3 separate regions of the Homo sapiens genome follow, and all the other regions are linked to region 3. Evidence: promoter capture Hi-C in human tissues and cell types (Jung and others, 2019). All regions are on one chromosome and are shown on one strand. Each heading gives the region's core, a stretch centred on a gene start or on the middle of the fragment in contact. The rest is flanking DNA. Distances are from core to core; before and after follow the strand shown.

Region 1 (2,806 bases), core at 144-2,643, 37 kb before region 3:
TTCACTGTCTTCTTGGGAGAAAGAATATCTAGAAAATGGGTTCTGGGGCCAGGTGCAGTGCCTCATGCCTGTAATCCCAGCACTTTGGGAGGCTGAGGCGGGTGGATCATGAGGTCAGGGGTTCGAGACCAGCCTAACCAACATGGTGAAACCCTGTCTCTACTAAAAATACAAAAATTAGCTGGGCGTGGTGGCGGACGCCTGTAATCCCAGCTACTGAGGAGGCTGAGGCAGGAGAATTTCTTGAACTGGGAGGCAGAGGTTGCAGTGAGCCGAGATCACGCCACTGCACACCAGCCTGGGCGACAGAGCGAGACTCCGTCTCAAAAAAAAAAAAAAAAGAAAAGAAAATGGGTTCTGAGTCTGGCTGCATCACTGCCATTTGCTCATCTTTGTAACAGGGACAGAGTCTGTCCCAACTACTTAGGGGGAGAGTGGGAGGAGCTAATAAGAAATGGATGTGAAATGCTGTGAAAAGCAAAAGTGTTTTAGGACTATACAGGAGTGTAAAATAGCAAAGTCTCCACCTGCCGTGGCTCCTTCCTAGCAGCTTGGCTCTCTCCTCCCTTGATTTGGCATCTTTCTGGCTTACAAATGGAAAAGCGGAGTTGAAGCTGGCTGTGAAATCCCCATTAATGAGAGGAGAAGAAACACTCCTGGGAAAAACAGCTGGGGCCTGATGGTGGGTGCAGAGGCCTGGGCTGAAGCCCTGGCCCCCTCGTCCACCCCTCTTCTCTACCCTAGGACCCAGACTTGAGCCTAACAGTCCTGCAGCAGGACACCAGCTCCTTCCGTCCCTCCACAGAGGCCTGGACACCTCCTTGGTGACATGAAGGTCTGCAATGCCTGGATTGAGCGGGTCAGTCTCCAGTCACAGAACATATCCCCATTTTATTCTCTTCCCTGTGGAGGACTCAGTTCCACTGGCTTCCAGAAAGGTGGCATATTTTCCCTATGGCCTCTGGGCTCTTCTCTTTTTCTCAAATTCTAAATGTTTTGGACAAAGGATAAGGATAACAATTATAGTTAGCCTTCTGTATCTGAGAATTCCACATCCATGGATTCAACCAACCATGGATTAAAATAATAATAATACAAATTTTAAAATACAGGGGCCAGGCGCAGTGGCTCACACCTGTAATCCCAGCACTTTGGGAGGCCAAGGCGGGCGGATCACCTGAGGTTAGGAGTTGGAGACCAGCCTGGCCAACATGGTGAAACCCTGTCTCTACTAACAATACAAAAATTAGCTGGGTGTGGGATGTGGTGGCGGGCACCCGTAGTCCCAGCTACTCGGGAGGCTGAGGCGGGAGAATGGCGCGAACCTGGGAGGCGGAGCTTGCAGTGAACCGAGATCACGCCACTGCACTGCAGCCTGGGCAACAGAGCGAGACTCCGTCCCAAAAAAAAAAAACAAAATTAACTGAGTGTGGTGGCATGTTCCGGTTGTTCCAGCTACTCAGGAGGCTGAGGCAGAAGAATCACTTGAACCTGGGAGGCGGAAGTTGCAGTGAGCCAAGACTGCACCACTGCACTCCAGCCTGGGTGACAGAGACTCCGTCTCAAAAACAAAAACAAAAAACAAAAAACAAGAAACAACAGTGTCACACTATTTTCTATTTTCATAGTATTTACATTGTACTAGGTATTGTACGTAATCTAGAGATGATTTAAAGGGAGGATGTGTGCAGGTTCTATGCAAATACTACACTATTTACTGTATGAGACTTAAGCAATCTGGAACTTTGGTATCTGCAGGGGGTCTTGGAACCAATCTCCTTCAAACACTAACATTTCTTGACATACGTCAGACTTGTCTCTCAGTGTTTACACCTATTAATTCATTTAATCCCAGTATTAACCTCACAAGATGGGTAGCACTATTATTTCCATTTTACAGGAGAGAAAACCAAGGCCTACAGATGTAACTTGCCCAGGACTACACCACTAGTAAGTAAAGAACCTAGAATATAAATCCTGTCTGGCTCCAAAACTCAGGGCCTAACCTCACCTTGGAGGGCTGGGTAGCTCTGACAGATCCACAGCTTAAGACACCTTTGGCTGGGAGAGCTGGCCCTCTGCCACCTTTTTAGGAAGCAAGAGTCTAATCAGTGGTTATCAACCACAGCCCAGCCTCACTCCACAGCGATGAAACTGGAATTTCATATAGCTAAGACTGCAGGCTTTTTTTGTTTTTTGTTGAGTCAGAATCACTCTGCTGCCCAGGCTGGAGTGCTGGAGTGCTGGAGTGCAGTAAGGTAATCATGGTTCACTGCAGCCTTGACCTCCCCAGGCTCAAATCCTCCCACCTCAGCCTCCCCAGTAGCAGGGACTACAGGTACATGCCACCACACCTGGCTAATTTGTGTATTTTTTTGTAGAGAAAGGGTTTTGCCATGTTGCCCAGGCTGGTCTCAAACTCCTGGGCTTAAGCAATCCTCTTGCCTTGGCCTCCTAAAGTGCTGGGATTACAGGCCTGAGCCAAGCTGCACTCGGCCAGACTGTGGGTTTTTACACCCTGAGAGAGCAAGGAAAAAGAAAGGAGTTCTCCCCAGCCCCGTCCTGCCTTCTCCATATCTGAGGGCGTGCAAATCCTTAGAAAGGTCCAAATATTGGCCATAGCATTTAAAATCACCTCTGAAGACATCACGGTGGCATCTCCAGCCTTCCTCACTGGAGGTAACCCTTAATCTCACTGGTCTCCATGCAGACTCCACTTGCCCACCCAGCCCCGTCTCGTGCTTAGGGGTGTGTGTGTGTGTACCTGCATGCATGTGGGCAAACCTCAGAACAAGAGAGAGAAGAG
Region 2 (2,987 bases), core at 91-2,590, 33 kb after region 3:
CTGTGATTCTGTTCCCTCGGTAGTGTGACCAGTCTCAGGAGCAGTTTCACCCAGAAAGGAGCTTGTTCAGCATGCTGCTGAGTGCGTTCCCATTTCACGTGGCTCCCAGGGAGTATCAGCCCCTAGGGAGGCGGTCTCCTCTCCCCCGGTGCCAATACTATCTGCTTCTTAAAAGCTGTGAGAGATCTTAACGTGGTCCTGACATAGAATAACTTTAGAGAGACTTCTGCCAACTTGACTTTTCCGATTCCAGCGAGAGCTTTGCCTACTAGAGTGCATTTCAGTCTCTAATCTTCAATAACCATCCCCTTCCAAAGAAATAGCGTGTACTACTTGGTCCTGAAGATTCTGAAAGCCAGACTACCTAAGCATCTGTTTGTCTTAAATGAGGGTGCCTTCTGTGTCAGTCTTTAAAATTTAGCTGAAGGTCAGAGAGCTTGTTTAGGAAGGATAAATAAATATTTCTAGACTGAATTTTTTCTGTCTCAGTCCCTGGAATTTTTGTAGCTTAGTACTTTGAAGCTTGTGGTAGAATTGACTGTAGTAGAAAGACTATATAAGATTACTTTCTCAATTTAGGATTTGTTCTTTTCTCTACTTTTGGTATAGATAGTAAGAAATAAAACATCACTACCTATTTGTGGAAATGCATCTTTGTGTCACTGGTTGCCTCAGTTAACTATAAAAATCCTTTGTTTTTCATTCACTTTCAGAGGGGACTTAAGTTGACTTCCCATAAAAGCATGGAAAATTCAATGTTAGAAGTGATATTTTTGGCCAGGCATGGTGGCTCACACCTGTAATCTCAGCACTTTGGGAGGCTGAGGCAGGCGGATCACCTGAGGTCAGGAGTTTGAGATCAGCCTGGCCAACATGGTGAAATCCTGTCTATACAAAAAAAAAAAAAAAAAATTAGTGGCACTTGCCTGTAGTCCCTGCTACTCGGGAGGCTGAGGCACGAGAATCACTTGAACCTGGGAGGTAGAGGTTGCCCTGACCCAAGATCATGCCACTACACTCCAGCCTGGGCGACAGAGCTGGAGTTTTGGCACACGCCTGTAGTCCCAGCTACTTGGTACTTGGGAGGCTGAGGCACAGGAATTGCTTGAACCAGGGAGGTGGAGGTTGCTATGACCCAAGATCATGCTACTGCACTCCAGCCTGGGCGACAGAGCTGGAGTTTTCTTTTTTTGAGCTCTGTCTCTGTCTTTTTTTTTTAGGCCAGGCACGGCGGCTCATGCCTATAATCCTAGCACTTTGGGAGGCTGAGGTGGGAGGGTCGCTTGAACCCAGGAGTTTGAGACCAGCCTGGGCAACATAGTGAGACCCCATCTCTATTTTAAAAAAAAAAAAAAAAGTGAGATTTTTAAAACTACTGAAGGAGGGAAATCCTTGGGTACCAGGAACAAGTATTGCAGTAATAACTCTGTTGAGACCTGAATTAACTTTGAAGTCCATGTTAACTTTATGAGCTGCAGGAGTATAATAAAGCAAAAGCATTTTCTATTTCACCAACTTTTGTAGTGCCTTCCCTACCTTGGACATAGACTGTACCTTAAGAGCCTTCAGTTACCTTTCACGAGTATGTATTATTGATTGGTAGTGGCTGAAAGGTGTGATAGATTTCCTCACTCATCTTGAGGGTCATGGCCAACACTTCTCTAACAAAAGACAGTTTAACAAGAGAAAAGCATAACAAATTTATGTGACACGGGAGCCTTTAGAAATGAAGTCACAAAGACCCAGGGAAAACTGTTTTTATGCTTAGGTTTGATGAAGAATTGACTGCTTTGTAGAAAGTGATTGGACAGTAGGACATGATCTAATGGTAATAGACTGAGAAACCCAGCAAGGCTGGTCTGCTCAGGTTATTCTTGGGCTCTTTATGTGCATTCCTTCCCCCAGGGTGTGGGATGTGGCAGGTCCTCTCTGGAATGAGGGTCTTCAGAGGAAAAGAGAGCAACCTTTCTAGTTTTATGGCTTGCTTCAGAGAAGAGGATTGCTAGTTAGTTCCTTTTTTTTTTTTTTTTTGAGACGGAGTCTCACTCTGTTGCCCAGGCTGGAGTGCAGTGGCACTATCTCGGCTCACTGCAGCCCCTACCTCCCAGGTTCAAGCGATTCTCCTGCCTTAGCCTCCTAACTAGTTGGGACTATAGGCACATGCTACCACGCCTGGCTAATTTTTGTATTTTTAGTAGAGGTGGGGTTTTACCATGTTGGCCAGGCTGGTCTCGAACTCCTGACCTCAAGTGATCCACCCACCTGGGCCTCCCAAAGTGTTGGGATTACAGGCATGAGCCACTGTGCCCGGCCAGGGTTTCTAGTTTCTATGGTCTTGAGGAAGAGGAATTCTGGTTTCTGTGAGTAGCTTAAGGGGAGAAAAAGGGGAGGCAGACAGGAGGCTAGGAGAAGGTCAGAGAGCAACCTTGCTTCTGAAGCCTTCCAATCTCCTTTAGTTCAAAGTGCTCAGCATGCCAAAGCACCATACTTTGGGCTATTGTTTTCTGAGCCTGATGGGATGGAAAATAGGCAAGAAGGAGAATGTGTTGCTACAAATCGATTGACATTACCCCAAAAACAATTTAAATAAAGTATGTATCTTAAAGAGTCACTAGCAACAGAAACAGGTCACGAGTATTTCCTCCCTCCCATCTTCTCTTTTCAGAGTAGTCACCCAAACAGTAATACACACTGACTGTTGAGCAGAGCACTAAGAATTTCTCTGAAAAGAGCCTACTGTTTCTTTTAGCAAAGAGACTTTAGAGATCTCAGGTAGAATAACATTTTTTGAAAGTGTGTACCAGCCAGTGGTAATGCTGCGGTTTTCTCCATATGCTTTATTCCTCATGGTTTGGGGCAACTTTCATAGGGATTGTATCAGTCTGCTTTACATTGAGGTCCTACAGTTACTAAATTGCATTTGACCCCAGACTGGAAAACAATGTGGCGTAGGGGTCATTGTCTACTGGCCCCCAGAGCTCTGCAGT
Region 3 (2,744 bases), core at 100-2,599:
ATCGCTTGAACCGAGGAGGTGGAGGTTGCAGTGAGCCGAGATCGCGCCACTGCACTCCAGCCTGGGCGACAGAACGAGACTCCGTCTCACACACATACACACACACACACACACACACACACACACACACACACACACACAAAGATCCCAATGGGTAGAGACTTACTCAGCAAGGAAAACTAATGGTCACCTGCTGTCCACTTTTTGGTTAGCATCTTGGATTTCTCCAGCCCTTTGTCTGCGAATAACACTTCACACATTATTCAAACAATCTCGGATGGGTGAGTCACTAAAACGCTTGCTGAATAATGGGGAACAAACACAGAGACCTGACACGGAGCTGAAAGACAGAGGCATAAATGGTACCTGACGTCCCCCCTGGGGTGCCAGCAAAGCATCCGCTCATCCTCTCTGACCTTTGCCTGGCTTCCCCCCTCACTTTTATCCTGTTAAAGCACTTCTGCGTGGGGTGGCGAGAGCTAAGTCGCGGGCTGGGCTTGCCGGGGGGATGGTCTGCGCTCACCTTTAAATCAGGAGGCTTGCTTCGGGGACCTGGGTTGGGCGCCGCGGCAGCGCCGGCGTCTGAAGTTGGCCCGCCAGCAGAGTTAGCACCCGTGGTCTCCCCAGGCCGGAGGTCCGCGCCCGGCAGGTGGGAAGCGGCATCTTCCAGCCCAGCTCCATCCTCCTCGCCCTGTTGTTGCTGCAGCTCGTCCGATCTGCACCTCTTCATGGTGTATGTGGGTCGGCAAGGGGAATCTGTCCTTCCAGCGCGCCGTCTTGGGGAAGACCGCACCCCCTCTTATATTCATATGAGGCCTGGGGTCTAAATTATTAACAAGGAGGGGAGATGGCAGACCACAATTTCTTGAATTAAAAAAAAAATTCTTAAAGGCGGGTGAGGGAGGGGCGAGAAGGGGGAGCCTTGGTTATAGCTTGGAATAGTTCATTTCGACCTGGGGAGCGAAGACAGGTCACAGTCGAGGCTGGGCAGCAAGAGTCCTTGGGCAGTCATTGCAGGAGGGAGAAGGGAGACAACCCCCGGCCCCCAAACTTTCTGCTTCAGGGCATGGGCAGGACGGAGAGGAGCTGGGCGGCACAGCGCATCCCTCCCGGCCGGCCGGGCTGCGGGGCGAGGCGGGGCGCGGGGCAGCCGGCCGGGCAGGTCCTAGTCGGCCGCCATCGGCGCCGGCTGCAGCCCCCGGCCCTGCAACCGGCCCCTGCCCCGCATGGTCCGGCCGCGGAGCCCGCAGCGCGCCCGGCCCCCTCCCCGGCCCGCGCGCCCCGCTCCCCGCCTGACGCGCAGCCTGCCGCAAAGCCGCGACCGCGGCCCGAGCCCGCGGCGAGCGCGCAACCTACCCCGCCCGGCTGCCTCCGCCCGGGAGCGGGAAGGCGAGGCTAGGAGGGAGTGACAGCGGCAACCGGCCAATGGGAAGCCCGCGGGGCTGAGGGGGCGTCGCGCAGCTTCGTTTTTGGGGTTGGTTGCACCGTGCGATCCCCCAGGAGAGGGCTGGAGGACGATGCTGCTGCGTTTTTGCATTGCAGAGAGCGGGCTGCAGTTCAGGGGCGGGGGCGGCGGGCGTGGGAGTCGCAGTTTCGGCTCCAGCTTGAGGGACCCTGCCGAGGAGGGCTCGCCCAGGATTTCCTCCACCCATTCGCTTTATTTGGCGAGAAGGAGCACAAGAGGGATGTTTATTATCACTGCTTTTTGGGGCTCTTAACTTTGCACCTTCTAGCCATAAGGGAGACACCTATCCCCTCTAGGATACTTGGTCTGAGTTAAATCTATGCCTACATTCAGAGCTGCAAATGCCAAGGGGAGGGGGCGTTCTCTCCTCATCGCCCCGTCCCCCGCTTTAAGTGCATTATTTCTTAATGAGACTTTACTTGGCATAATTTATGCTCAGAAATTGGGAAGAATTTCATATAAAAACACAATAACGTATGTGAGAGTTCCTTACAAACTGTGAAGCAGCTTTTAAATAAGAAAGGGTATTAATGGCAGGAGGTTGCTACATATAGATGTGTGGAAAGGGAATGCTGTCTCTCTTTGCATAAATCTCAGCCAAACTGTGCTGAGTAATCTGGAAGCAGAAGAGAGCAAACGTTGGGGTTACCAAGATATGGAGAGTAGTAATAATAACAACCCCATCTGAGTGTCTATTGTATGCCTCCTGTGGACACAATGGATTTTACTCATCCAGCAACCAGTGGTTCACAAATTGTGATCCTTGGACTAGCAACTTCAGCATCACACGGGAACTTGATAGAAATGCAAATTCTTGGCCACCAGCCAGACCTAGAGAATCAGAAGTAGTGAGCCAAGAAATCTGTGTTTTGACAAGCCCTCCAGGTAATTCTGACACACACTACCCTTTGAGAACCACTGGCCTAGACAGTGAAGGGGCCACACGGTCTCTAAAGGATTTTACAGTTTACCAATCTCTTTCGCACCCATCATGCCATTGTAGCCTCACTTCAGTCTCACTAGTCGGAGTTTCTTGACTTTCTGTTCTGTCTTCTTCCCATTCCAACCACTCATTTTAATGTGTATCCTAGAAGAGACTAATTTGTTAAGAATTTACTTCAGCCAAGCAGCTACTTTCTAAACTAGGCAGCTCCACTTTTAGAAGATAGGAATTTAGGATGGGCTGGGAATGTGGAACCACCCCCCACATCTACCACAAAGAATCGAGCACAATGTGGAAACACAAAGCTATAAGCCTTTATTTAGCATTTTCAATGGT

What was found. Contacts are between HindIII fragments. The study calls those that stand out against the background at their distance.
Region 1: a fragment that was not itself captured here is called in contact with the fragment with the promoter of TMCC2 in region 3 in 2 of the 25 tissues and cell types used here (IMR-90 fibroblasts and hippocampus).
Region 2: a fragment that was not itself captured here is called in contact with the fragment with the promoter of TMCC2 in region 3 in 1 of the 25 tissues and cell types used here (hippocampus).

What each region holds. Positions count from the first base shown.
Region 1 is chr1:205,263,099-205,265,904 of GRCh38, reverse strand. The region is part of intron 2 of TMCC2 (transmembrane and coiled-coil domain family 2); the gene reads right to left. Among named protein-coding and RNA genes, the nearest start is that of TMCC2-AS1, 27 kb to the right of the region's middle. RefSeq lists an enhancer at 1,943-2,640. The HindIII fragment of the contact is 8,685 bases long and covers 1-2,806 here.
Region 2 is chr1:205,192,915-205,195,901 of GRCh38, reverse strand. All of the region lies in intron 1 of DSTYK (dual serine/threonine and tyrosine protein kinase), which reads left to right. Among named protein-coding and RNA genes, the nearest start is that of DSTYK, 17 kb to the left of the region's middle. RefSeq lists a cis regulatory region at 1,232 and an enhancer at 1,160-1,304. The HindIII fragment of the contact is 4,492 bases long and covers 1-2,987 here.
Region 3 is chr1:205,226,551-205,229,294 of GRCh38, reverse strand. TMCC2 (transmembrane and coiled-coil domain family 2) reads right to left here and starts at 1,349. Exons shown (of 5, transcript NM_014858.4): 1 at 524-1,349. The coding sequence starts at 730. RefSeq lists a silencer at 1,249-1,428 and an enhancer at 1,559-1,698. The HindIII fragment of the contact is 10,382 bases long and covers 1-2,744 here.